4 separate regions of the Homo sapiens genome follow, and regions 2, 3 and 4 are each linked to region 1. Evidence: promoter capture Hi-C in human tissues and cell types (Jung and others, 2019). All regions are on one chromosome and are shown on one strand. The core of a region is centred on a gene start or on the middle of the fragment in contact, and the rest is flanking DNA. Distances in the headings are between cores, read along the strand shown.

What was found. The method cuts DNA at HindIII sites, captures the fragments that hold promoters and counts their contacts. A contact is called where the count stands out against the background at its distance.
Region 2: the fragment with the promoter of PRX here is called in contact with the fragment with the promoter of CCDC97 in region 1 in 1 of the 25 tissues and cell types used here (small bowel).
Region 3: a contact is called between a fragment that was not itself captured here and the fragment with the promoter of CCDC97 in region 1, in 1 of the 25 tissues and cell types used here (dorsolateral prefrontal cortex).
Region 4: the fragment with the promoter of MIA here is called in contact with the fragment with the promoter of CCDC97 in region 1 in 1 of the 25 tissues and cell types used here (dorsolateral prefrontal cortex).

Annotation. Positions count from the first base shown.
Region 1 is chr19:41,307,390-41,314,449 of GRCh38, forward strand. It overlaps CCDC97 (coiled-coil domain containing 97), which reads left to right and starts at 2,783. Exons shown (of 5, transcript NM_052848.3): 1 at 2,783-2,967. The coding sequence starts at 2,922. It overlaps LOC105372401 (a long non-coding RNA gene), which reads right to left and starts at 2,660. Exons shown (of 2, transcript XR_935968.4): 1 at 2,549-2,660; 2 at 150-2,436. It overlaps HNRNPUL1 (heterogeneous nuclear ribonucleoprotein U like 1), which reads left to right. Exons shown (of 15, transcript NM_007040.6): 15 at 1-398. RefSeq lists enhancers at 1,376-1,555, 2,829-3,118. The HindIII fragment of the contact is 30,341 bases long and covers 1-7,060 here.
Region 2 is chr19:40,410,672-40,417,731 of GRCh38, forward strand. PRX (periaxin) reads right to left here and starts at 2,707. Exons shown (of 7, transcript NM_181882.3): 1 at 2,667-2,707. RefSeq lists an enhancer at 3,517-4,165. The HindIII fragment of the contact is 14,641 bases long and covers 1-7,060 here.
Region 3 is chr19:41,849,976-41,857,035 of GRCh38, forward strand. It overlaps DMRTC2 (DMRT like family C2), which reads left to right. Exons shown (of 9, transcript NM_001040283.3): 7 at 337-397; 8 at 551-725; 9 at 1,609-2,358. The coding sequence ends at 1,721. Among named protein-coding and RNA genes, the nearest start is that of RPS19, 6.7 kb to the right of the region's middle. The HindIII fragment of the contact is 8,258 bases long and covers 1-7,060 here.
Region 4 is chr19:40,769,879-40,776,938 of GRCh38, forward strand. It overlaps MIA (MIA SH3 domain containing), which reads left to right and starts at 5,643. Exons shown (of 4, transcript NM_006533.4): 1 at 5,643-5,791; 2 at 5,874-6,007. The coding sequence starts at 5,665. It overlaps MIA-RAB4B (MIA-RAB4B readthrough (NMD candidate)), which reads left to right and starts at 5,659. Exons shown (of 10, transcript NR_037775.1): 1 at 5,659-5,791; 2 at 5,874-6,007. The HindIII fragment of the contact is 14,863 bases long and covers 1-7,060 here.

The DNA.
Region 1 (7,060 bases), core at 1,533-4,032:
TGGTAGTTTCTGGTGGGATTCAGTGGGTGAGAGGGAAGAAGGGGAGGTTGGGGGGCTCCTTCCCTTCAGAACTTGAAGTTTCTCCCACTGCCTCCTCTCCAGTGGTCTCCCAGGTGCCAGACCCAAAAGCTTTTCCTACAGTGATACCCTTTATTTTTACTTCCCCTTGACTCATATGTTTTAACATGATTTTAACAAACTGCACTTATTAAGAAATGTGTTTGCCCTGTTTTGTTTGGTTTCGTTTTGTTTTCTTTGAATAAATGACATGGCACCTCCTAGCAGGAAGGAAGCAGGGTTGAAACCCTGAAGTGTTACTGCAGTTGGCCGTTAATTGGGGTGGGGGCCTCTTTAAAGGGAAATTATTTACTCATTCATTAAACAACTTAACTGAGGGATTCATGTGCCTGGCCCCGATTTTGGTGCTAAAAATGCACGCTTAAACAAGGGTCCCTGGTTTAAAATCCACTAGTTCATTTTTAAAGTGCTTCTCTTGTTCTCTACCTCTCACAGTCTAAAATCCCTCCAGGAGTTTTTGAGTAAAGGACATGGAACAGGCCTCTAGGTGGAGGGATGGGTGGGACTGATGGGGCAGAGACCAGGGCTGGTTTGTTTGGCATCATCACTGGGCATCCACAGACCACCTGCCTCAGGCCTGGCCTGTGTGCAGCACGGAGGACAGTTCCTGCCTGTTCTGTGTTTGGGGCTCATGGGGATTCCAGGAGCTTCATGTTTCAGCCAGTGTGTGTGAGCCACCTGCTGTGTTCTTCAGCTGTCCTGGACAGTGCTGGGGACATAGTATGGCCACGGCAGTCCTGGACCCCGTTCTCACAGAGCTCCCACTCCAGAGAGAACAAAGACCTGCCAGCACCAAGTGGTCAGCTGTGAGAGCCTGGGGTGGTGTGCAGGGAGGGCTTCCTGGAGGAGTGAGCCAGGGTAAAAGACTCCAGATTGCATCCCCATGGCCCATCTTCCCCTTCCTTAGCAACCTTATGTCTTCGTTCCCTCATACATGCTGTGTTCCTGGCTCCTTGTGAGAGACAATGCTGGGCCACAGGAGAAGCCAATTCAGCCCCAATCTTCCCTGGTGGGAGCTCAGAGCCTTGTGAAGGGGAGATGGGCAACAAAAACAAGGGAGGGAAACTGACTAGTCTCAGAATCTCGGGTAGGGCATCAGAACGTGAGAAGGAACCAAGGTTGGTGGCTAAAAGGGACCCTAGAATGCGCCAGAGAGGAGGTGGCAGGGCCTTTAGTCTGGAAAGTCCCCTTCCCTTCATGTCCATATGCTGGGCTACAGCGCCCTCTGCTGGCCTCTCCTGGTAATGCCTAGGAATCTGGGTTGGTAAATAGGGACCTCCTTGGCTTTCTTCCACAACTCCAGACCTCAAGGGAATGCAAATGGGGAAGCTCTTCCTCTGTTCTCAGCCAGTTTTTCTCACACGTCTCATCTCCAGTCCCTTGATGCCCACTCCCTTCAGAATAAAGGAGGTCAAGCCACTTACTATGGCTTATGAGGCCCTGCATGGCCTAGCACCTGGTAACATCGCTGGCGCCCTCTCTTTCTGCTCCCCCTTTGAATATCAAATCAGTGTTTATTTTGTTCTGAGGAGCCATAAGTCCTTTTTGGAACCCACAAATGATGCCATGAACCACTGCATTGGAGAATACAGAGGTACATGGAATTTTGCATAAAAATTCATGAGGTTCTCAAAACCTCCACAGCCCAATCATGGCTTTCAAGTTAGAGCTCCTTTCCTATGCCCTGACCGTAGTGAAGTGCTTGCAGCAACCAGAACCGTCCGTACGTGCCATCCTCCTCAAGACTCTTCCCTACCTTCCTCTTAACCCAGCTCCTACTCGTTCTTCAGGTCTTAGCTTGAGGGTACCCTCCCAGAAAGAAGGCTTCCTTGACCCTCCAGCCTGGGGTGGACAGCTCCCTCAGCCCTCTGGATCCATCAAAGCCCTGGCCACTGAGTGACATGTCTGTCTACTCTGCTGGTAACACCTAAATAGAGCCCCACCCATCCCATAGGGAAATAAGGACCAGAGTTGTCTTGTTTCACACCTGTAGATTTCCTCCAGGTCCTGGGAACACAAAATGGGAAGTTCTATCTCACTATCCATCTCATGCCAGCCAGAGACAGGGTATGATGACGGAAGTAAGCCAGGCTGGTGGCTCACGCGCGTAATCCCAGCATTTTGAGAGGCTGAAGCGGGAGGATTGCTTGAGGCCAGGAGTTGGGGACTAGCCTGGGCAACAAAGTGGGACCCCTGGCTCTACAAAAAAATTTTAAAAATTAGCCGGGCGCGGTTGTGCGCGCCTGTAGTCCCAAGTACTCCAAAGGCTGAGGCAGGAGGATCACTTGAGCACAGGAATGTGAGGTTACTTGAACTGTGATCGCGCCACTGCATTCGTCTAGGCGACAAAGCGAGACCCTGTCTCAAAAAAAAAAAAAAAAAAAAGAGTCAAGGCTTAGTAATATTCCTGAATTCCTGAAGGAGTTAAGAAAGGAAAAGGACAAGCGGGGGTCTAAACGAGAGCACGAACCCTCAGCGTATGACGGCTCCAGGCTCCGGGGGAAAGTCCTTTAGCCATCCATCCCAAAATTAAGCACGCTGGGAGCTGGAGTCACAGCAGTGATAAAACGAACAATGATTCTGGTTCCTACTGACTGACAGGAGAGGTTTAAGGGTCTCTCACTCTCCGGGGAGCCCCTTTCCTTCCTGGCTGCGGAGGGCGGAGCCCGAGAGAGGCACGCATGCGCAATGCAACGTCTGCCTTAGGCCCGGAACTTCGGTGCCTGGGCGCAGCGGTGCACCCGGACCCGGAACATTCTCAGGCGAAAGTGTCTCTTGCGTGCGTGGGCCGGAGGTTAGTGTGCGGGGCCCGCCGGGCGGTTGAAAAGTCCGAGAGAATCAGGATGGAGGCCGTGGCGACGGCGACGGCGGCGAAGGAACCCGATAAGGGTGAGATCTTGGTCACGCGCAGGCGGCGGGTGGGTGCGGTTGCGGTGTCTCTAGGAAATGATTCCCCCAGGAACGCGAAGTAGGACTCGTTTTAGGGGGACACCCACCCCCCTCAGCTTTACCGGTCCTCTTCACTACTTTGCCCAGATTATTCCCTCCCTTGTCGCGGGCTGACCTTCTTTTCCTCCATTCCTTCCCCCCGAAATTAACCTCTTCCCAGTTCCAGACCAATCCTTTCCATGTCCCTAATTCATTTCCTTACCAGGCTAACTCTCAAATTAACAGAAACCTCTCTACCCCGGCCTAATTCCTGCATTGCCTCAGACCAGCCCTTCTCAAATTACCTCCTTCCCTGTACCAAGCTGAGCCTTCCCTTGCTCTCTAGACGAATCCTCCTACCTTTCCAGGCTAAACTTCTACCTGCCTCATGCAAACTTATCCCAATCTAACGATTCCTTCATTTCATTGTAACTCCCGTTTCCCCCAAAGTCCGAAATCCAGCCAGGCTCCTTTCAAAGTCCTTACTCAATTTCTGTGCTTTCCCACAACCTTCAAAGTAATCCGACGTCGGGTGAGGTGTGATTGGAAGCGTGGCTCCAACACCACTGGCCAAGAATTGGTAATTGTGGAAGCCAGATGGAGATGATTGGTATATGGAGGTAGGGGGAGAATTGTCGTTGTACTTTCTACTTTTGTGTATGTTTGAAATTTTCTAAAAATAAAAAATTTAACCTAAAAAAAGTCTTAAGGCCGGGTGCAGTGGCTCCCGCTTGTAATCCCAACACTTTGGGAGGCCAAGGCAGGAGAGTTGCTTGAGCCCAAGAGTTTGAGACCAGCCTGGGCAAGAGAGAGAAACCTGATCTCTATAAACATTTAAAAATTAGCCAGGCCTGGTGGCTAGGGAGTAGCTAGGACAAGCTACTCAGGAGACTAAGGTGGGAGTGTCACTCGAATCCTTTGAGATTGCAGTGACCTAAGATTATTACACCACTGCACTCCAGCCTCTGCAGCAGAGTGAGACTTGAGCCCAGGAGTTTGAGACCAGCACTGGCAACATAGCCAGACCCCATCTCTACAAAAAATTTAAAAATTAAGGCCGGGCCCGGTGGCTTACACCTGTAATCGCAGCACTTTGGAAGGCGGAGGCAGGAAGATCACCTCAGGTCAGGAGTTGGAGACCAGCCTAGCCAACATAGCGAAACCCCATCTCTACTAAAAATACAAATATTAGCCAGGCGTCGTGGTATGTGCCTGTAATCCCAGCTACTCGGGAGGCTGAGGCACCAACTGGAATCACTTGAACCCGGGAGGCGGAGGTTGCAGTGAGCAGAGATCGCACCACTGTACTCCAGTCTGGGTAACAGAGCAAAACTCTGTCTCAAAAAAAAAAAAATTAGCCAGGTTTGATGGTGCATTCCTGTGGTCCCGGCTACTCAGGAGTCTGAGGCGGGAGGATCACTTGAGCCCAGGAGGTCAAAGCTGCAGTGAGCTGTGTTTGCACTATTGCATTGCAGTCTGAGCAACAGAGCAAGACCCTGTTTCAAAAAAAAGAAAAAAAATTTGTCTCTTGGCCCCATCTGTCTCCTTCAGAGAGTCATGTATACTTGGTCTTCATTTCCTCGTCTCCTGCTCACGACTGTCTGACTTTTCTCCTAAGAAACTGCTCTGATTAGGGTCTGCACTGACTTCCCCCATGTTGTTCAATTCAGTCCCCCCATTCAGGTTTTTGTTTGTTTGTTTGTTTTTTGAGAGAGTCTCACTCTGTTGCCCAGGCTGGAGTGCAGTGGCATGATCTCAGCTCACTGCAACCTCCACCTCCCAGGTTCAAGTGATTCCCGTGCCTCAGCCTCCCAAGTAGCTGGGATCACAGGTGCCCGCCACTATGCCTGTCTAATTTTGTATATTTTTAGTAGAGATGGGGTTTCACCATGTTGGCCAGGCTGGCCTCGAACTTCTGACCTCAAGAGATCCTCCTGCCTCAGCCTCCCATAGTGCTGGGATTACAGGTGTGAGCCACCACACTTGGCCCATTCAGGTTTTTTTTCTTACTAGACTGGACTAGAATTAAATGCTGTTGATCCTTCCATCCTTTTTGCATGTTTTCCTTTGGCTTCAGCGACACCACAGTGCCTGATTTCCTGCCTGTCTCTCAGGCTGCTCCTTCTCAGCCTGACTTTGTTTCCCAGGGGTGCTGTAACAAAGTACTACAAACTGCATGGCTTCAAACAACAGAACTTTATTCTCTCATAGTTCTCAAGGCCAGAAGGCTGAAGTCAGTGTTGCTGAACTGAAATCCAGGTGTCTGCAGGGTCGTGCTTCCCCACAGGCTCTGGGAGAAAACCCATTTCTTGCCTCTTCCAGCCAGTGGTGGTTTCTGGAATTCCTTGGCATGTGGCTACATCACTCCAATCTCTGCTTCCCCTTTTGACGTTGCCTTCTTTTTTTTTAAGACGGAGTCTCGCTCTGTTGACCAGGCTGGAGTACGTGATCTCGGTTCACTGCAACCTCTGCCTCCGGAGTTCAAACAATTCTCCTACCTCAGCCTCCTGAGTACCTGGGACTACAGGAGTGCGCCACCACACCTGGCTAATTTTTTGTATTTTTGGTAGAGCGCCATGTTGGCCAAGCTGGTCTTGAGCTCCTGACCTGAAGTGATTCTCTCACCTTGGCCTCCCAAAGTGCTGGGATTACAGGGGTGAGCCATTGCAACCGGCCTCTTTTTTTTTAAGATAACAGTAATGGGCTCCAGGGATTACGATGTAGCTATCTTTTGCACAGCCAGTTTTTAGCTTCAGAGGCATGTCCTCCCCGCATCTGTGCAGTGCTTTTTCCTGGACCCTCTTGTCATCCCTCTCCCACTCCCCTGTGCCCTCCCCAGTCCCTACCTCTCATTTCTCTTGGCTTTGGTTCTTGTCTTGATTCTGATGACACCCACAGCTCTGTCTCCAGCCCAACATTTCTCTCCTGAGGAGTCTGGAGGCCCGTGTAGCAGCAGTCGGACCATTCCCCTGGATGCCTCCCTTACTTCCAGCACGTCAGCCCTGTGGCTCCTCCACTCAGCCTCCTGACATCTTTCTGATTCGCTCACTCATGATCCTGTTCCTTCCTCCACAGCCCCTGCCCTTGTCCAGCTCAGTCTTCAGCTGCATCAGTGATTTAAATCCTCCCTGATACACACAACACATGTATGTCACCTGTGACTTCTTTCCTCCCCAACCCAGCCACGCTGCTTAAAGTTGTCTCTATATTCTGTTTTCACGTATTTCCTGCTTGCCGCAGGCTTGCTCCCTCCACTCTTGGGAAACAAGTCTCACCAAGGTTTGCCCAGCGCTCCGCTTTCCTGTTTTCTTTCCATTTTTTTGAGACAGAGTCTTCACTCTGTCACCCAGGCTGGAGTGCAATGGCTGATCTCGGCTCACTGCAACCTCTGCCTCATGGGTTCAAGCGATTCTTGTGCCTCTGCTTCCTGAGTAGCAGGGATTACAGGTGCCCACCACCATGCCCAGCTGATTTTTGTATTTTTAATAGAGAGAGGGTTTCACCATGTTGGCCAGGCTGGTCTTGAATTTGTGGCCTCAAGTGATCTGCCCACCTCGGCCTCCCAAAGTGCTGGATTACAGGCATGAGCCATGGTGCCCAGCCAGCTTTCCTGTTTTCTTTGCCCATATTATTGTTGATCCTGACTGTCTCCCACATCAGACTGGGTGCTCCCTGAGGGCAGGAGCTGGACTGGATTCATCCTATGGATCCTCAGCATTGCCTGACTTAGGGCCTCTCAGAGATTTAGTGTTTTTTTTTCTTTTTTTTTTTTTAGAGTTTTGCTCTTGTTGCCCAGACTGGAGTGCAATGGCACGATCTTGGCTCACCGCAACCTCTGCCTCCCAGGTTCAAGCTATTCTCCTGCCTCAGCCTCCCGAGTAGCTGGGATTACAGGCATGTGCCACAATGGCTGATTTTGTATTTTTAGTAGAGACGGGGTTTCTCCCAGTTGGTCAGGCTGGTCTTGAAATCCCGACCTCAGGTGATCCACCTGCCACAGCCTCCCAAAGTGCTGGGATTACAGGCGCAAGCCACCGCGCCCGGCCTAAGATTT
Region 2 (7,060 bases), core at 1,457-3,956, 900 kb before region 1:
ACCAGTCTGGCCAATATGGTGAAACCCCGTTTCTACTAAAAATACTAAAATTAGCCAGGCGTGGCAGCGCGCGCCTGTAATCCCAGCTACTCGGGAGGCTGAGGCAGGAGAATCGCTTCAGCCTGGGAAGCGGAGGTTGTGGTGAGCTGAGAATGCACCACTGCACTCCAGCCTGTGCGATAGAGCGAGACTCCATCTCAAAAAAATAAAAATAAAAATAAAAAAAGCTCCAGCGCTTTAGCTGGACAATCATAATAACAACTGATGGGTATTGAGTGGTTAGTATTAATATTAGCTGGTCCCTGCACTAAGACCTTGTCTGCCATGTCTGGGGCATTTCCTCTGAATTGGGCCCTGTGCTAGCACCCACAGGCCTCAAAATCACCCTAGATGTTGTGGCTGTTATGGGGTGGAAACTGAGGCTCACAGAGGGGTCACCCAGCCAGAAAGGGGCAGAGCTAGGACCCGTGCCTGCCCTTCACCCCTGCTTCACCTTAATTTGCATTGGTGGCTCTGCGCACTGGGGCAGGAGCTGGGTTGGGCAGGAGGGGGCCAACGGTGCTAGAAACACACCCAGGCCAGGTGCCGGGCCTGGACCGGGCAGGCGCTTTACATACTTGACCTTGTGGGACCCCATTTAACTGATGAGTCAATGAGAGTTAAGAGACCGGTGATCACAGTGACAGAGTCGAGACTTGAGCCCAGGTGTGAAAGCGAACTCAGTTCCCTTACCCAGGACTGATACACAGCACAGAGTCCTGAGCTGGGGACACGAGAAGCCTGAACCTTGTAGGTGGTAGTAGAGGGGGTCTCCTGGGTCATCAGCTCTCTGTCCCAGGCCCGTGGCTGTGAGGGTCATGCCCGGAGCCTGGCACAGGAAGTTCAGGCGGGGCAGGGACAAGAGAGAGTGCCCTCCTTCTTCGTCCCTGCCTGGACAGGCACCCAGCCCAGGTTATATTTAGCCCAACTGTGCTCTTCCTGAGCCACGTACCCAGCCCCTGGGGTAAGGTGGGGGCAGCTTCGGAAGGAAACCCACAGAGAGGACTCTGTGTTCCCAGCTCTGCCTATCCCACTAGGCAGGGGAAAGAGGGGTGGGGAGGCTCCTGGGGAGGGTCCCTGCCTTGTGTTAGAGGCAGATCCACTGGGACCAGGCAGACACTCCAGATGCCAGCAGCCTATTTCTTGGGTAGTTACTGTGGCATGACCCTGGCATATGCCAGAACTTTCAGAATCCCCAGGGTCCCCATTTCTTGAGCACCTACTGTGTGCTAAGATCCTTCCTGTCTTGGCTCCTTAAATCTTTGTAACATCTCCCTGGAGTGGGTACAACTGAGATATCCATTTCAGATGCGACTTATGCCCTTCAGAGCAGCTGGGAGCGAGGGGTTGTCATTCGGAGGCTGCTGAGGGATCGGCTGAGGGCATTGCCCTTCTGGCCCTCTTTCCCTGGTGACTGCCACCAACTTCACTTGGGAACCCTGCCTGCTCAGAGCCTCAGCTTTCCCCCGCCACCAGCGTGATCTCTCATAGCAATGGGGGTCAGGGGTTGGGCTGACTCATCCAGACCTCTAAACATTATCTGAGGCCACCTAGGGGGTCAGGGGGAGTTAAGGCAGTGGCCTCTGGCTGCCTCGGTTAGTCCCTGCTCCAGCACTTCCCAGGTGTGAGGACTTGGGCAAGATCCTTCATCTCTGGGGCCTCAGTTTCTCCATCTGTAAAATGGAGCCAATAAGAAAGGCTTTGAAGATTTGTGAGAGAACAGCAGGTGCTTAGAATATCCCTCCTGTATAGTAAATGCTTGATTAATATAAACTCGTCTCTGACAGCAACAGGGAGAGTATGGAGGGAGGGAGCTGTGCTTCTCACAGTGTTGCACATCCAACCTTTGCTCCTCAGTGGCCCCCACTTTCTCTGCTACCAAAGGGGAGCTTTGGCTGAGAGACAAAACCCAGCTCAGGCACCAGCCTCCCAACAGGATCCATGCTGCCTCCCTAGCACCCTACTCCAGGGACCCACCCCAGGCCTCCTGCCCCAGCTCTGGTGTTTGTTAGTTTGTTTTTTGGAGACAGGGTCTCCCTCTGTCACTGAGACTGGAGTGCAGAGGTGTGATCACGGCTCACTGCAGCCCCAACCTCCTGGGCCCAACCCAATCTCCCATCTCAGCCTCCAGAGTAGCTGGAACCACAGGCATGCACCACCATGCCCAGCTAATTAAAAAAAATTTTTTTTTGTTTTGTAGAGATGGGGGCCTCTCTATGTGGCCCAGGCTGGTCTCGAACTCCTGGGCTTAAGCAGTCCTGCCGCCTCAGCCTCCCAAAGTGCTGGGATTATAGGCATGAGCCACCATGCCTGGCTGCCCTAGCTCTTTAAAAGCAGCAACTCATTTACTCGGCACCAGCCCTGTGAGGTGGCCTCCAGACATCAGCCCATTTTAGAGATGGGGAAACAGAGGCACAAAGGATGAAGTATCTTGCCCAAGGCTGCACAGCCAGAAAGGAGAGGAAAGGGGATTTGAACCACCAGCTCCAAAGTCTATACCTTTAACACCTACACCACACGGCTTCCTGAGCCCCCAGGCCCCCTCCCAGCACCTCCCGGGACCCTGAACCTCATTCCCACAGTGTCTCAGCCTGGCCAGGGAAGGGACCGGCCGGCTGATCTCTTACCGCTGAGCCTCCAGACACCTCGAGAGCTCCTGGTCCCGTCTGTCAGCCCTAGCCCTAGGCTGGGGGGGAAAAGGAATGGGGAGGGGGGAGGAGAGAGAGACCCCAGCCATTGGCTGCGGGGGTGTGACGTCACCAGAGGGTGGGTGGTGGAGAAACAAACATCCCCCTCCTCCAGCTACATCTATCCCCAAGGGGTGGGGGCCACGGGACAGCCACCAGCCGCCTCTCTCTTGCCTGGGCCGAGATCTCTGCCATGAGCTCAGCTTCAAGGATTTGCACGTTGGCTTCCTCGACTTGGAGAATCAGGACCCCACCCCAGCCCCACTGTTTCCTGGCTCCAGGACCCGGGCCTGGCCAACTGCCTCTACTGTAAACTCCTTTCACTCCCTCTCCCTGTCAACTTGGGTTCAAATCGCAGCGCGACCACTTCCTCGCTGGGTGACCTGCTGCCAGTCACAGCTTCTCTTTGCGGATAGTAAGAGTACCCACCTTATGGGGCTGTGGTGAAGATTAAACGAGTTAAAAGAGACTGAAAATGTAAGACAATGCCGGGCACATAATGAGGGTTACTAATAAGTATTTGGTATTATTTTTCACACAAATTAGGTGGCTGGCTCATCTTGCTGGGGGGTTTTGGCCCCTTTTCAGTAAGGCTGGGCACAGGGGACCCCCAGTTCTCTGTCTAATGGAGTTACTGTTTAGGGGGACACCTATCACATACTAAGTACCATGCTCAGTGCTGAAGCCCTGCTTTTGAATCAAGGGTGTAAAATGGGCTCCTTATGCTCCCCACCCTTTTTTTTGAGACAAGGTCTCACTCTGTTGCCCAGGCTGGAGTGCAGTGGTGTGATCATGGCTCACTGCAGCCTCCACCTCCTGGGCTCAAGCAATCCTCCCGACTGAGCCCCCTCAAATAGCTGGGACCACAGGTATGCATCATCATGCCCAGCTAATTTTTGTATTTTTTGTAATGGCAAAGTTTCACCATGTTGCCCAGGCTGGTCTCGAACTCCTGGGCTCAAGCGATCTTCCCACTTCGGCCTCCCAAAGTTCTGGGATTACAGGCGTGAGCCACCGCGTCCAGCTATGCCCAATTTATAGCTATGTGGCCAGGAGGTGGTGAAGCTGAGGTCCAACCCCTGTTCTCCTGGACCACAAAAACCCTGCTACACTCTTCTGCCCCTTCCACTTTGCAGACCAGAAGGCTCAGAGAAGGTAAGTGACTCTCCCAATATCACCATAGCAGGTCATTGGCAGGGGTCCAGAGTTGAACCCAGACCTGCCCGACTCCCAAGCCAAAGCTACCAGGCCTCACCCCCAACCCCTGGACCCTGGTCCAGCCCCCAGCCTGCCCTGACTCACCAGACCCCGGGGGGCGGCACAGGGAGCACAGGTACCCCCACATGCCACTTGAACCCACCCGGCTGCTGCCTCGGAAGCTCGTCGCTCTCTGAACCCAGGCCCCAGGCCTGGGCTGGGCTGAGGCTGGGGGATTACCCCCAAAGCGCATGTCAGCAGCTTCTGCCCCATTGTCCAGCCAGGCACAGACACCAAGCCCTGGCCTCTGTCGGCACCCTCGCCCCTCACACCAGCCTGGGTGGCCCCTCTGCAGACCTGTCCCCCATCTCACACCAGAGGGTTGGGGCCTACTTCAGAGGGCGTGGGGGACCAGGCCAGGATGGCAGGATCCCGGAATGCTGGGGGCCTCCCTCCCTTCTCTCTGAAATGCCCCCTGCCCACTCTCAGCCACCGGGGAAGGCAGGAATGTGCTGAGCTCTGGGAAATGCCTTCCAGGCCTGGCAGCAACCAAGCATTGGGGTGTGGCCAGAAGCCAGCCAGAGCCCTCCTCCCAGGAGGGGTAGAAGGGATGGTATGGTCGGGGCTCCCGATGGGCCTGAGGAGACCCTCACTTCATTGCAGTCTCTCTCCTTCATTGATTCACGCAAACATTCTTTTGTTCCTATATTCATTCAACAAACACTCACAAGCCCTGTTTAGTGGTAGGTCTTTTGCTGGGCACAGGGGACATCAACAGATCTAACTCCACCCCAGGGAGGAGGCGGCAAACTCAGGAAAGGATCCTGCAGGAGGTGATATCGGCAGTCAAACTGAATTAGCCAGGCGTGGTGGCGGGCACCTGTGATCCCAGCTACTCGGGAGGCTGAGCAGGAGAATTGCTTAAACCCAGGAGGCAGAGGTTACAGTGAGGCAAGATTGCGCCATTGCACTCCAGCCTGGGTGACAGAGCGAGACTCTGTCTCAAAAAGAAAATAATAATAAATAATAAAAGGAAGTCAAAATGGAAGATTGAGGAGGAGGGAGCTAAGGAAAAAAGGAGGGAAGGGGGTTCCAGGCAGAGGGACAAATGTGGGCAAAGGACCAGAGGTGAGAAATGGAGCGGGTCTTCATTCACCATCAGCAAACATTCAGTGAGCACCTGGTCTTCTGTCCAGTCCCAGGCTGGATGGTGCTGGGGACACAGTGTGACTGGGACAGCTCAGGCCTGCATCCACACCATTCACAGTCCAGCAGGGAACAAACCCAGAAAGAGGAGGGTTGTGATGGGGCAATCATAGGCAGAGAGGTCAAAGCCTTGATGGGGAAGTCCAGAAAAGGTGGCTGCCCCAGCCTAGGAAGAGAAATCAAGGAGGGCTTCCTGGAGGAAGTGGCATTTGAGCTTGCACCTGGAGGATATATAGAAGTTAACCCAAAGCCATGGGTGGTGAAGGAATGACAGTGTGTTTCAGGTAGCGGGAACACCCTGTGCAAAGGCCCTTTGAGAAAACGGTTAAGGTGAGAGTGTGAGGGAAAGGTAAGAGGAGGTCCAGGGGTCAGCAGGGCCATGAGGAGGGCCTCAGACTTTGTCCTGTGGGCCCTGAAGAGCTATCAGAGGGACAAAGTATGAATAGCACTGAGCTTTTAGGTACCTGAAGGCAGAAAGAGGCTGAGCTATCAGCCAGGCTAGCATAGGGAAGAAAATCCCCCTCTCTCTGCTCAGGGTCAAACAGAAAAGGGAGGCTGGTACACAACATCCCCTCTCTTCCCTTGTCGCAGAGAGCAGAGATCTTTGCTTGTTCTCAGTCTTAGGGGAAAGCATTTAACCTTTTGCCATAAAGTAGGAAGTTAGCGGTCCATGTTTTGTAGATACGCTTTATCAGGTTAAGGAAGCTTCTTTCCCTAGTTTGCTGTGAGTTTTTTGTTTTCTTGTTTTTGAGAGATGCGGGTCTCACTATGTTGCCCAGGCTGGCCTCAAACTCCTGGCCTCAAGCGATCCTCCTGCCTTGGCCTCCCAAAGTGCTGACATTACAGGCATGAGCCACTGTGCCTGGCCTGCTGTGAGTTATTTTCTTTCTTTTTTTTAATTTTTCTTTTGTTTTTTTTTTTTTAGGCAGAGTTTTCGCTCTTTCACCCAGGCTGGAGCAAAGTGGCACAATCTCGGCTCACTGCAACCTTCGCCCCCTGGGTTCAAGAGATTCTCCTGCCTCAGCCTCCCGAGTAGCTGGGATTACAGGCGCCTACCACCACACCCAGCTAATTTTTGTATTTTACACTTGATCTTAGCCAAAAGGCCAAGAAGCAATAATTTTGTATTTTTAGCAGAGATGGGGGTTTCGCCATGTTGGCCAGGCTGGTCTTGAACTCCTGACCTCAGGTAATCCACCCGCCTTGGCCTCTCAAACTGTTGCGGTTACAGGCATGAGTCACCACACCTGGACTGTTGTGAATTCTTATCACGAATGGTGTGTCTCTCTGTGTGTCTCTATCTTTGTGTCTCTCTGTTCTTCTGTTTCTCTCTGTCCTTATTCTTTGTCTCTCTTTCCTAGTTTCTTTCTGTCTCATTCTGTCTGTGCGTTTCTCTCTCCCTCTCTCTCTGTCATGCTTTCCCTCACCCAAGGGGGTGTGGCCACGGGAAGCTAAGTTGGGGGTGGCCCCAGTGTCCTGGTTCCGGCTGTGGCCACCGCAGTAAACACAGGACATCCTGTGAGGCTAGGGAAGGAGGTGGACGCTTCTTCTCAGGGACCACCCTCTCCAGACTCAGTCTGAGCCAAGCAGGAGCCTTGGCCTGCCCTGCGTGGCCTAGCCACTCCGCCCCACCCAGTCCAGCCAAGGGACACTGGTGTCTCCCTCGATCCCACCGTTCACGCCCACCCCCACACCCCAGTCCTCTCTCCTGAGCTCCCGGCCCAGGGCCCGGGCAGCTCCATGCCTTCCCCTGGGTGTCTCCCCAGCCTCTTGCACCCCCTGGGTCCCTCCTTGGCCTCAGCCCCAACCCCAGACTTGCTTCTCTCCCCAGTTGCCATCTCAGGGATGGCCCCAGTGTCTCCCAGTCCCCTGATTAGAGCCCTGAGCCTGGTCTGAGACCCCTCCTCCAGGCCTTGTCAGTCCCACAGCCT
Region 3 (7,060 bases), core at 2,743-5,242, 540 kb after region 1:
CTGAGGTGGGAAGATGGTGTAGGCCCAGGAGTTCAAGCTTATGGTGAGCCATGATCACACCGCCACTGCACTCCAGCCTAGGTGACAGAGCAAGAGCCTGTCTCAAAAAAAAAAAAGACACTAGTGATTTCCCATAATCCTCACAGTAGCCCTGGGAGGAAAAACTGGCAAGGATTTTTACTTTACTGAAAACAAAATAAGTCAAGACACAGCTTAATGGCCCAGCAGGCTCTCAGATTCCCAGATCAAAACATGGCAAAATCCTGCCCCTCTTTCAATGTGTGCATGTCTGTTCATCTGTTTAACCACCCTGGCATCTTCTCTCCTTGTTTCTAGACACTCAACTCTGATACTCCAGCCCTGTGGCACCCCAGACCCTCTTCAGCTACAGCCACAGGTCCTGGGAAAGAAGTGGGATCTAGGGCCCTGGGAGGAGGTTGAGCCTGGGGAAGGAAAAAGCAGGAAACTGAAGGAAGCAGGGGCTGAGGAACACTTAGAGGGTGGGCAGAAGCGGGGGTTCCCAGTCTGCTTGTCTCCCTTTCCCTTGCAGGCCTCTGGAGCCTCGTGCCTGGCCCGGACATCTGGCCCCTCAGAGTGGCAGCTGCAGCAAGAGGCAGCTGAAGCCCTCGTGGGGCTGAAAGATTCATCCCAGGCTCCTCGTGTGACCCCTTCTGTGCCCCCCAACCCTGCCTGGATCTCCCTGCTTCACCCCTGTGGCCCACCAGGTGGGCCATGAAAGGAGAGGATGGATAGGGATGGCTGGGAAATGGAGATCACTGAAGTACACAGGGACTAACCAAGGAGATGAGGGGGTCGACAGGTTGAACGTCTTCAGGCCCAGGACCCCAAGCTCCTCAGCCTGGCCCCTGGGATTGCAGTTGAGAGTTATTCAGTGAATCCTTTTTATCAGTTTGGCACTCGACAGCAAATTTCTTGATATCAAGGAAAGTGGGGCACTGAGAAAGGCAGGGACTTGCCCAAGGGCATATAGTGAGACAGTGGCAGGGAACCCAATGCTCTGTCTCTGGACCCAGGCTGCCTGCTGAAGTCTGAAGTGGGGTCTGGCCTGGGAGGAGGTCTGATAAGTGCCTTCAAGGAGCTTACGTTCTAGTTAGGGAAATTGGATGCCTTCACAAGGCTCAGTGACAAACCTGAAGAAGATTGGAGGAACCTTGAAGAGTGAGAAACACCTAGGGGGACAGACAGGGAAAGCTGCGAATTCTCTTGTCCAAATAGTGGATTGGGCAGACTGGCCTGGAGGAAATGCTAGAACAGAGGGAAAGGAGGCTGGAGAGGCTTCTGATGGTGGAGATCTGGCATGCCAGGCTTAGGTGTCTAGAACAGCAACTGTATGTGAAGGGGAGCCAGGGAACGTTTCTGAACTAAGCAAGGACAAATTCAGAGACCCTGAGCTTTAGAAAGACAAGTGGGTGGCTTTGATGGACGGTTTGGAGGAGGCAAGACTGGAGGTGGGAAAATTAGCAAGGAGGTCTGTGAAATAATCCAGGAGAACAATGATGAGGCCTGGATTGGATTCGGTAAAAAGAGGGGGTTGCTAGAAGGAAAAACAGGTGTGACCTGATCCTGCCCCTTCCTTCTTGCCTGTAGCTCCTGCTGGAGGAAGAGGATTCCAGCCTGTTGGCCCCTGTCTTCGACCCAGCCCAGCCCCCTCTGTTGCTCTGCATATTGGCCGTCTGGGGTCCATCTCCCTCCTGAGCTAGAAACCCAGAGATGGAGGCTGTCTTGCTATGGCAGGGAGGTGACAGCCTGCTGGCACTGTATATTTAGTGTCTTACTTAAGGATTTATGCATGGAATTTAATGTAGTACAAGCTTCGGGCTTTTTTGTTTGTTTGTTTGTTTGTTTGTTTAAGCTTTCAGGTGCTTCATTAGCTTTCAGTTCCTTTGGTAGTGTGGGCATTTCCTTGGCTGACAGTGGATATTCTTGTACCCTTCTTGGGTCCTGGGATCTCTTGAAATCCCCAATAAAGAGAGAGTTGTGCTATTTAAGCTGACCAGTATCTATAAACGTGTTTGCATGAGTTTACATCCCAGGATTCCATGATTCTGTAAATGCCTATGCATTCATGTCTGTCTCCATGCATGTGAAAACAGGAGAGTGTTTTCATTTTGTGTCTAGGTTTGTGTGAGTAAGCAAGAAATAAACCTTTGTTGTTGTAAGCCACTGAGATTTGGAGAGTGTTACCACAGCCTAACCTAGTCTATCCTGACTGACAGAAAGGACTTGTTCATTTCGCTTCTCAAAGTGAAAAATCTGTTATCCAATAGCTACCATAGATGAAAACAAACTTGGATTTTTTTCTTTGTCCAAATAAAAAAAAATGATGTAAAGAAATAATGGGGGATTCACTGATTAATTGCCCGCTCTGTGCCAGGCATAGACAGTTTCCAGCTGTCTAGAGGGGCTACAAATCGAAATGCCTACAGGGCTGAGCAGATCAAATAAATGAGTAAAGAAGGCCAGATGGACCCTGGCAAACTGAGAATGGATGCCTTGCCTAAGGAGCAGCCTCCTTTTGGCCCTAGCAGATTACTGCCAGGCGGGAATGTGGACTCAGTGTTGCTCCATCTTCTGATTTTTTAAGAGAAACTGGAAAACTAGATTTCCATGTAAAACATCTTAATTTTCAAATGTTGGCTCAGTTTTCTTCTTTAAATTCTATACGTGCCAAATAAAACATATTTTCAGGCTAGCTTTGGCCAGTGGAATACCAATTTGATACATTTTCCAGATGGGGAAATTGAGGCTAACCAGAATAGAAAGAATCGAGTTAGTCTTTATCACAAGTTTTTCCTCAACTAGGGAGGTTCACGTGTCTGAGTTTCGAAGGATCCATAAAAGGTTAAGAAACATTTATTACCATTTATTGAGTGCCCACTCCATTTGATTCACATATCTTCACAGCAACCCTGGAAGTTATGCAGGATGGTTCCCATTTTACAAGTGAAGAAACAAGCTTAAAGAGGTAAAGTAACTTGCCCAAGTGTTTTAGGGGAAATTTCTAGGCAGAGATCAGAGGAGGGTTCCTTCTCTTTGCCAGGCTCCAAATTAGTTAATAATGTTTATAAAGCATTGGGCCGGGTGTGATAGCTCACACCTGTAATCCCAGCACTTTGGGAGGCCAAGGCAGGAGGATCGCTTGAGCCCAGGAGTTTGAGACCAGCCTGAGTAACACGGGGAGACCCTGTCTCTATAAAAACAAATAAATAAAAGCATAGAATGAAAGATGCACCACTCCTTTCCCCAATCAGGACTCCAGAAGATACATACAAGTCAAGAGTTTTTCAAAAAAGTCTTTTATTTTTCTCCTCAAGATATCATTAAGAATAAGATCTTACCTGCATTTGTTTCTCAGTCCTCTGGTGTCAAGTCCTTCTCCTTGAACCATTCCGTACATAGGAAAACCTGTTGAGCTATTCCAAAGACATGAAGCCTGGAGACCCCCTTCCCATTCCCACCCTTAGAAGGGGCTCAAGGGATGTGCTTGATCACTGATTCTTTTTCCTGATGTTACCTACACCCCTTGTTTTACTCAAGATGATTGATGGTGATGACATCCAATTACAACTTGTTATTTCTTATTTGGGATTTTGAGAGGGTGGGTTTCTTCTCCTCCCTAGCAGAGTACAGAGTAACAAACCTGCAGCACTTCTCAGGAGATACTGAGATATCAGGAGACCAAAGTCGGCTTCACACCCTTCTTCCCTCCCCTTAGCTATAACTTAGATATATGATTGCTCCTTAATAGACCTGCCTAAGACTTGGTGTGCCATGCTTTCCTAGTGACAGATGACCAGGGCCACAAAGTCACAGAGAAAGGAAGCACTGCAACATGCAACATGGCTGAGATTCTGCTACTCAGCACTGACCAAGGGTCCTCTGTACACCAAGGTCACAGAGCTGAGAAGGGTAAAAGAGAAAGTATAATTTGGGGTTAAAGGATGGCATGAAAAGGGGAGGAAAAGAGGAAGTGATGGAGATTGGGGGAAGGAGTAGACTAGAGGCCACCTCTCCTTCACCTCTCCTCCAGTACCCGGCCTTCAGTACCCAGCCTGGGCAAGGCTTTTCACACCAGTTGGCCAGGCCAACTTTGTCTTTCAAATCGTTAGGGCCCCCCATTAGTGCCTGAGGGAAAGGGCCAGAGCTTCTGCAGATGTCAGTCTTAGGGAAAAGAGCAGATTTAAGAGTTGCTCATGCTCCTAAGTTGTTGCCTGTTCAGGTGCAGCACTCTTCACCTGTGGTTGTAGGGAGCCAGTAGGCTCCTGGCCTCTTCTTGGCTCTGAGAGATTACAGATAATAGACTGTGAGCACTGTTTCCTATACTGCCCCCTTTCCCACTTCCCAGTGCCAGGTAGGGAAAGGTATTGCCATGGTCCAATAAAGTACTGAGTAAATCATCTCCCTTCTAAACCTTCTTTGTGTACCCTCTTGGCACTCTGCAGACTTAACCAATGAGGTCCCAACTATGAAGCACCGTCCCTGTTCCTCTCTCTCCTCACAAGACTCCTCCCCACAGTCACCCAGGTTTTATTTCAGGAGCTTATTTCACATTCTGCCCTTTGGGAATCCATGCTCCTTTCGCTTCAGCCCTACATTAACTTGCTCCACTCCTGACCTCAATTCTCGTCCAACGTAGAACTGACATCATACACTTATCCCATCCAGCCTATACGCAGACCCTCATTGCTTCGTCCACATAGGCCTCATTCTGCACCCCTGTTCCATTGTGTAGCTGGCTTTGCAGCCCTGACACGTTTGCATAAATACAGTCCTATAACCCCTACCCTGCATGGGCCTTCACAAGATCCTGAACTCTTCACAAAACCAAAGTTCATCCTTTTCATCCAACTCAAAATAATATGTTAAGCCTCTCAGGCAGAGTTCCCTATGTTCCCAAGGGGCCACTGGTCTCTACTTCATAGTCCTGATCACCCTGAGCTGTGCCTATCTATGTCCATCTATGTCTCCCCCTCAGAGAATAAGCACTCTCAGAGCACAGGACTTGCCTGCAGCTCCTCCTTGGGAGCTCAGAATAAATGACTGAGTAAAATACGTTCTGTCTGATTCCTTAGGAATTGTTTTTTCCTACTGAGTTAACACACTCCAATGCTGCCCCTCTCCTCATCAAAATGTGAACTTTCTGACCTCAAACCATTTTTTCTAAGACAGCCTCTGTCACCCAAGCTGGAGTACAGTGGCACAGTCATGGCTCACGGCAGCCTCAACCTCCCAGGCTCAAGTGACCCTCCAGCCTCAGCCTCCTGAGTAGCTGGGACTACAGGCATACACCTCCATGTGAGACTAATTTTTATTTTTTGTAGAGACAGTGTCTCACTATGTTGCCCAGGCTGGTCTTGAATGTCTGAGCTCAACCGATCCTCCTGTCTCAGCCTCCCAAAGTGCTGGGATTAGAGTTGTTTTGTTTGTATGTGTGTATTTTTGTTTCTTATTATTTTGGGATTAGAGTTGTGAGCCACCGTACCCAGCAAAAAAACCTTCAGGGGCCAGATACAGTGGCTCACACCTCTGATCTCGGAACTTTGGGAGGCCAAGGTGGGAGGATTGCTTGAGCTCAGGAGTTCGGGACCAGCCTGGGCAACATGGCAAAACCCCCTTTCTGCAAAAAATACAAAATTTAGCCAGGCATGGTGGCGTGCACCTGTAGTCCCAGCTACTCAGGAGGCTGAGGTGGGAGAATAGCTTGAGCCCAGGAGGTCAAGGCTGCAGTGAGCCATGATTACACCACTGCACTCCAGCCTGGGTGACAGAGCAAGACTGTCTCATATATATGTGTGTGTGTATATACATGCAACACACATATATACACACATATACATATACATATGTATGTATATATATATATATTATATATGTTCATAGCAAAATTTAGTGGAAAGTACAGAATTCCCATAGTCCCCTTGCCAACACACAGGGATGGCCTCCCTTTTGTATCAACATTCCACACCAGAGTGGTACCTTTGCTACAATCAAGGAACACCGTATTATCACCCAAAGTCTGCAGTTTACATCAGTGTTCACTCTTGTTGTATGTTCTGCAAGTTTTGGCAAATGTGTAATGACACGTATCCACCATTACAGTTTCATAGAGAATAGTTTCATTGCCCTAAACAACACCCATTCATCCCTCCATCCCTCCAAGCCGACAACCAATTATCATTTTATCATTTTATTGTCATCACAATTTTGCCTTTTTCCAGAATGTCATATAGTTGGAATCATACATTTGGATTGGCTTCTTTCAGTTAGTAAGGCATTTAAGGTTCCACCATATCTTTCTTTTGGCGGGGTGGAGGGGAGGGGGAGGCAGACAGGGTCCTGCTGCGGAGTGCAGTGGTGCTGGAACGCAGTGCACTTGGCTCACTGCAACCTCCGCCTCCCAGGTTCAAGCGATTCTCATGCCTCATCTTCCTGAGTAGCTGGGATTACAGGCGTGCACCACCACACCTAGCTAATTTTTGTATTTTTTTAGTAGAGACGGGATTTCGTTTTTTTGTTTTGTTTTTGTTTTGAGACGGAGTCTCGCTCTGTCTCCCAGGCTAGAGTGCAGTGGCGCAATCTCGGCTCACTGCAAACTCCGCCTCCCGGGTTCAGGCCATTCTCCTGCCTCAGCCTCCCGAGTAGCTGGGACTACAGGCGCCCACCACCTCCCCCAGCTAATGTTTTGTATTTTTAGTAGAGACGGGGTTTCACCATGTTAGCCAGGATGGTCTCCATCTCCTGACCTCGTGATCCGCCCGCCTCGGCCTCCCAAAGTGCTGGGATTACAGGCGTGAGCCACCGCGCCCGGCCTAATTTTTTGTATTTTAGTAGAGAGGGGGTTTCACCGTGTTGCCCAGGCTGGTCAAGAACTTCTAAACTCAGGCAATCTGCCCATCTCAGCCTCCCAAAGTGCTGGGATTACAGGCATGAGCCACCGCTCCCGGCCAGCTCATTTCTTTTTAGGGCTGAATAATATCCCACTGTTTGTAGGTACTACAGCCTCAACCCATTTTTAAAACTGTGTTTAAAGAGTTTATTG
Region 4 (7,060 bases), core at 4,393-6,892, 530 kb before region 1:
AGCTACTTGGGAGGCTGAGGCAGGAGAATGGCGTGAGCCATTCGGGAGGTGGAGCTTGCTGTGAGCCGAGATCGCGCCACTGCACTCCAAAATCCAGCCTGGGCGACAGAGCAAGACTCTGTATCAAAAAAACAAACAAACAAAACAACAACAACAACAACAAAATTAGTTAGACGTGGTGGTGCATGCTTGTAATCCTAGCTACTTGGGAGGCTGAGGCAGGAGAATCACTTGAACCTGGAGGTGGAGGTTGCAGTGAGATGGAGGTGCAGTGGCACTGCACACTCCAGCCTGGGTGACAGAGCAAGACTCCAAAAAAAAAAAAAAAATCCTGATGTGAAGCGGGTGATGGGGTTGGGAACAGTAATGAGTGGTCCAGAAAACCCTTCTGAGAAGGTGCATTTGAGCTGAGCTCATGGTGCTTGGTGTTGGGTTTGTAGACATGGCACAGACCTAGTCTTCATCCCTGACAAACTCTTCCCTGGCCCCAAGCCTGTGTGTGTCCATCCTCTTCTAAAAAAAGCTTGGACTTGCCAGTCTAGAGGTGAGGGTCCCTGGGAGCAACGTGGACCCTCTGGAGAAGGACGCTTAGCCTGTGGATCTCCGAAGCACACTTTGGAGGTGAGAGATGAAAAAAAAGAGGCCGGGCACGGTGGCTCACCTCTGTAATCCCAGCACTTTGGGAGGCTGAGGTGGGCAGATCACTTGAGGTCAGGAGATCGACACCAGCGTGGTGAATATGGTGAAACCCGTCGCTACTAAATATACAAAAATTAGCCAGGCATGGTGGCACGTGCCTGTAGTCTCAGCTACTTGGAGGCTGAAGCAGAATTGCTTGAACCCGGGAGGCGGAGGTTGCAGTAAGCCGAGATCATGCCACTGCACTCCAGCCTGGGCGACAGAGTGAGATTCTGTCTCAAAATTTTAAAAAATTAAAAAAAAAAATTGTGCTTCTCAGTGGCCCTGCTCCTGTGGCTGCAATATGGAGGAAGAGTACAAAGGGTGGGTACAAAGACTGGCCTCTGTCTTGCTGTTGGGAAATCCAGCTGCCACGTTGTGAGCTTGTGTCTGGAATTGGTTCCTTCTGGTGGGTTCTTGGCGTCGCTGACTTCAAGAATGAAGCCATGCACCCTCGCAGTGAGTGTCACAGTTCTTAAAGATGGTGTGCCTGGAGTTTGTTCCTTCAGATGTTCAGATGTATCTGGAATTTCTTCCTTCTGGTGGGTTTGTAGTCTATGCTGAGTTCAGGAGTGAAGCCACAGACCTTCGCGGTGAGTGTTACAGCTCATAAAGATAATGTGGACCTATAGAATGTGCAACAGCAAAATTTATTGCAAAGAGCAAAAGAACAAGGCTTCCACAGCATGGAAGGCGCCCTGAGCCAGTTGCAGCTGCTGGCTAGGGTGGCCTGCTTTTATTTCCTTATTTGGTCCCACCCACATCCTGCTGATTGATCCATTTTACAGATAGCTGATTGGTCCATTTTACAGAGTGCTGATTGGTCTGTTTTACAGAGTCTGATTGGTCCGTTTTTACAGAGAGCTGATTGGTGCGTTTACAAATCTTTACCTAGACACAGAGCGCTGATTGGCGTGCTTACAATCCTTTAGCTAGACACAGAGCGCTGATTGGTGCATTTACAATCCTTTAGCTAGACAGAAAAGTTCTCCAAGTCCCCTACCTGATTAGCTAGACACAGAGCACTGATTGGTGTGTTTACAAACCTTTAGCTAGACACAGAGTGCTGATTGGTGCATTTACAATCCTTTAGGTAGACAGAAAAGTTCTCCAAGTCCTCACCGGCCCAGAGGCCCAGCCATCTTCACCTCTCAAGCTGTCTGTAGAGGTCCACGTGTCAAGAAAACTGAGGACAGAGGCCCTCAGTCCAGTTCCCACAAGCAACTGCATCTCCCCAACAGCTGCCTGAATGAGTTTGGAAGCAGTCCTCCCACCATTCAGCCTTCAGATGAAACTGCACCCCTGGCTGACAGGCTGATTGCAGCCTTATAGCAGACCTTAAGCCTGAGACATTCGACCCACAGAAAAGGTGATAATTTTGGTCTTTTTTTTTCTAAACAGGTTCTTGCTCTAGAGTGCAGTGGCACGATCATGGCTCACTGCGGCCTCTACATCCTGGGTTCAAGTGGTCCTCCCACCTCAACCTCCTGAGTGGCTGGGACTACAGGTTTGTACCACCATGCACAGCTAGTTTTTCTCTTTTTTTCTTCTTTTTGTAGGTACAAGGGTCTCCCTGTGTTACTTAGGCTGGTCTCAAATTCTTAGGCTCTAGCAATCCTCCTGTCTCAGCCTCCCAAAGTGTTGGGATTACAGGCATGAGCCACTGCACTGGGGCAATGTTGGTCTTAGGCTAATTATGCAGCAGGAGATACATGCACTGTGCTTTGGGAATTGAAGTCACTTCTATTTCTTTGTGGCTTCATCAGTAATATGGGGCAGGGGGCACGGTTCCCACAGCTGATTCTTGAGTGTTCTTTCTGAGTATCCTTAATACTTCACACACTATCATATATCTGAACTTTGTTCATTGATTATCTCCCCTTTAATTTTCATTCCTTGATGAATCTCCAGGGTCTGGATTAAGTCCTAGGATACTTTATGTACTCATGAAATCTTCAATGAATGAAGAAATGATTTTTTTTTTTTTTGAGACAGAGTCTCACTCTGTCACCCAGGCTGGAGTGCAGTGGCATGATCTTGGCTCATTGCAACCTCCACCTCCCAGGTTCAAGCAATTCTTCTGCCTCAGCCTCCTGAGTAGCTGGGACTACAGGCATGCGCCACCATGCCTGGCTCATTTTTGTATTTTTCAGTAGTGACAGGGTTTCACCATATTGGCCAGGCTGGTCTTGAACTCCTGACCTCAGGTGATCCACCCACCTCAGCCTCCCAAAGTGCTGGGATTACAGGTGTGAGCCACTGCATCCGGCGGATTTTTTTTTTTTTTTTTTTGAGACAGGGTCTCACTCTCTCGTTCAGGCTGGAGTGCAGTGGCGTGATCTTGGCTCACTGCAGCCTCCACCTCCCAGTTTCAAGTGATTCTGGTTCGGCCTCCCAAGTAGCTGGGACTACAGGTGTGTGCCACCATGCCTGTCTAATTTTTGTATTTTCACCACGTTGGCCAGGCTGGTCTCAAAACTCCTGACCTCAAGTGATCCGCCTGCCTCAGCCTCCCAAAGTGCTGGGATTACAAGAGTGAGCCACCATGTCTGGCCTGAATGAAGAAATAATTTTTTAAAGAGTGTTTTAAAGTGGGGCCGGGTGCGGTGGCTCACACCTGTAATCCCCACACTTTTGGAGGCCAAGGTGGGTGGGTCACTTGAGGTCAGGAGTTTGACACCAGCCTGACCAACATGGTGAAACCCCATCTCTACTAAAAATACAAAATTAGCTGGGCATGGTGGCAGATGCCTGTAATCCCCGCTACTTGGGAGGCTGAGGCAGGAGAATCACTTGAACCCGGGAGGGGGAGGTCACAGTGAGCTAAGATCGTGCCATTGCACTCCAGCTTGGGTGACAAGAGCGAAACAATGTCTCAAAAAAAAAAAAAAAAAAAAAGAAATTGCATTTCAAAGCCAGGTGCAGTGGCTCACACTTATAGTCACAGCTACTTAGGAGGCTGCGGTGGGAGAATAGCTTGAGCCCAGTTGTTCAAGGCTGAGTGAGCTGTGATTGTGGCACTGCACTCTAGTCTGGGTGACAGAGTGAGACCCTGCCTGTAAAAAAAAAAAAATCTTTCAGGCCAGACGCGGTGACTCACTCCTATAATCCCAGCACTTTGGAACGCCGAGGCGGGTGGATCACCTGAGGTGGGGAGTTCGAGACCAGCCTGGCCAACATGGACAAACCCTGTCTCTACTAAAAATACAAAAATAGCCGGGCATGGTGGCACATGCCTGTAATCCCAGCTACTCGGGAGGCTGAGGCAGGAGAATTGCTTGAACTCGGGAGGTGGAGGTTGCAGTGAGCTGAGATTGTACCACTGCAATATGAGACTCCATCTCAAAGAAAAAAAAGAAAAAAAAAAAAAGATAGCATAGCAATGGCTGTGGGCCTGGATACAAGTCTTAGCCTCTCCACTTCTCCACTTCCTGGCTCTGTAAGCCTTAGACAAGTTCCTTAACTCCACACTTCCATTTCCATGTAACAAGGGGTTATAGGCCAGGCATTGGTGGCTCATGCCTGTAATCCCAGTGCTTTGGGAGGCCAAGGCGGGAGGATACTTGGGGACAAGAGTTCAAGACCAGCCCAGGCAGCACAGTAAGACATTGGCTCTAGAAAAATAAAAATAAAAGAAATCATCCAAGAATGGTGACTTGCCTACTATTCTACTCGAGAGGCTGAGAGGGGAGGATTTCTTGAGCCCAGGAGTTTGAGGATGCAGTGAGCTATGATCACATCACTGTACTTCAGCCTGAGCAACAGCAAGATCCTGTCTCAAAAAATTAAATTAGGCTGGGCTTGGTGGCTCATGCCTGTAATCCCAGCACTTTGGAAGGCCATGGTGGGCAGATTGCTTGAGCCCAGGAGTTTGAGACGAGGCTGGGCAACATGACGAAACCCCGGCTCTACCAAAAAATACAAAAAATTAACTGGGCATAATGGTACATGTCTGTGGTCCCAGCTACTCGGTAGGCTGAGGTGGGAGGAATGCTTGAGCCCAGGAAATAGGGGCTACAGTGAACCAGGATCATGCCAGTGCACTCCAACCTGGGCAACAGAGCAAGACTCTACCTCAAAATAATTATTTAAAAAAATGGATTAATTGGGCATAGGTGGCTTGTGCCTGTAGTCCCAGTTACTCAGGAGGCTGAGGTGGGAGGATTGCCTGAGTCTAGGAGGTTGAGGCTGCAGTGAGCCGGGATGGCACCATTGCACTCCACCTGGGCAACAGGGTGAGACCCTGTCTCAAAAAAGAAAAAAAAGGGAGGGGTTATAATCACTCCTCCTGACATGATACAGAGTATCCATTTGAGTTCATAACATAAATATGTACTTGGTGAATGCTCTGTAACTATTGGCTTTTTTATTGTTCCCATTTTACATATAAGGAAGCTGAGGCTTTGTGAGGAGAAATAGCTTAGCCCAGGTCATCCAGTGGGAAGCGTCTGGTGCAGAGGAATAGTGATCATGGTGGGACTTTGCCTAGCCTAAGGTTCAGCATACAATATTCAGTCAGTACTCAAGGGCTGGGCTGTTTCTGGTAATCAAAGGGCTGCCTTGTTCTCCTGCCCCACAGCACAGGAAATTCCAAGGTGGTTTTCTTTACAGGCTCCTCCGCTTCTGTGGCCAGAGGGGACAGCGGAGGAGCCCAGGTACCTAAGCCAACTCAAGAGAAGATGGAATTGAATATTTCAACCACCTTATCTAGGCCTCTGTGATTGTTGAGGAGGGGGCTGTCACTGGGAAAGTTGTGAGCTGCTTTGGACCTTATCTGGGAATTTCCTTGGGCTTACAGCCTTTACCCTATCCTTGAAATGGTTCTGGTTTCATAGCAACTTCTAGGTGGTGTGGGCGAAGTTTGGGACTGGTTTAGGGCGGGGACAAGACCAAGAACACAAGTTTCCTTGTACTACGGGAGAGAGGGAGGGGAGGAAATTGGAGACCCCAGCACCCCCTTGCTCACTCTCTTGCTCACAGTCCACGATGGCCCGGTCCCTGGTGTGCCTTGGTGTCATCATCTTGCTGTCTGCCTTCTCCGGACCTGGTGTCAGGGGTGGTCCTATGCCCAAGCTGGCTGACCGGAAGCTGTGTGCGGACCAGGAGTGCAGCCGTAAGAATGGGGAGGGGAGAATTGGGGGCTTGGGCGTTAGCCTGTGTGGAGGGTGCTGCATTCCCTTCTATTCCTTCCCTAGACCCTATCTCCATGGCTGTGGCCCTTCAGGACTACATGGCCCCCGACTGCCGATTCCTGACCATTCACCGGGGCCAAGTGGTGTATGTCTTCTCCAAGCTGAAGGGCCGTGGGCGGCTCTTCTGGGGAGGCAGCGTGAGTCTTGGGAGAGTGAAAGAGGGAAGGGTACAGAGCTGGGGTAGACTCATTATCCCCATGAAGGGAAGATTTGAGGGGGGTGAACTGAAATAGACATTGTGGGGGGATATTGTTACTTACTTTATTTTATTTGCTTATTATTTTTTAATTTTTTCCGAGACAGAGTCTTGCTCTGTCACCCAGGCTGGAGTGCAATGGCACGATCTCGGCTCACTGTAACCTCCACCTCTTGGGTTTAAGCGATTCTCCTGCCTCAGCCTCCCAAGTACCTGGGATTACAGGCATGCACCACCACACCTGGCTAATTTTTGTATTTTTAGTAGAGACAGGGTTTTACCATATTGGCCAGGCTGGTCTTGAACTCCTGACCTCATGATCTGCCCGCCTTGGCCTCCCGGAGTGCTGGGATTACAGGTGTGAGCCACTGCCCCCCAGCCTATTTTCACTTTATTTACCAATTTTAGGACCTGATATGGTCCCACGTTCTGTTCTAGACACCAAGATACAACAACAAATGATCCTTTTTATTCTAATGGAGGGAAATGAACAAAAAGCAAGGCATAAAAAATAGCAGCAGCCGGGCACAGTAGCTCACACCTGTAATCCCAAGTAAGGCCAAGTTGGGAGGATAGCTTGAGCCCAGGAGTTCGAGACCAGCCTGGGCAACATAGCAAGACCCCCATCTCTATAAAAAAAAATTTAAAATTAACTGGGCTTCATGGCATGTGTCTGTGGTCCCGGCTACTCGGGAGGCTGAGGTGGGAGGATTGCTTGATCCCAGAAGTTGAGGCTGCAGTGAGCCGTGATCATGCTACTGCACCTCAACCTGGGCGACACAATGAGACCCTGTTTCCAAAATAATAATAATAATAAAAGCAAATATGCGCTGCTGTGAGAATTAACAGAGACTTACTTGGGTGTTCAGAAAGGGCCTCTGAACAGGTGGCATTTAAGCTGAGATTCATATGACAAGGATGGAGCAGTTATGTGGAGATCAGGGAGAAGGGAGAATGCAAAGGCCTTCAGCAGGCACAAGCTTGCCATCTTCCC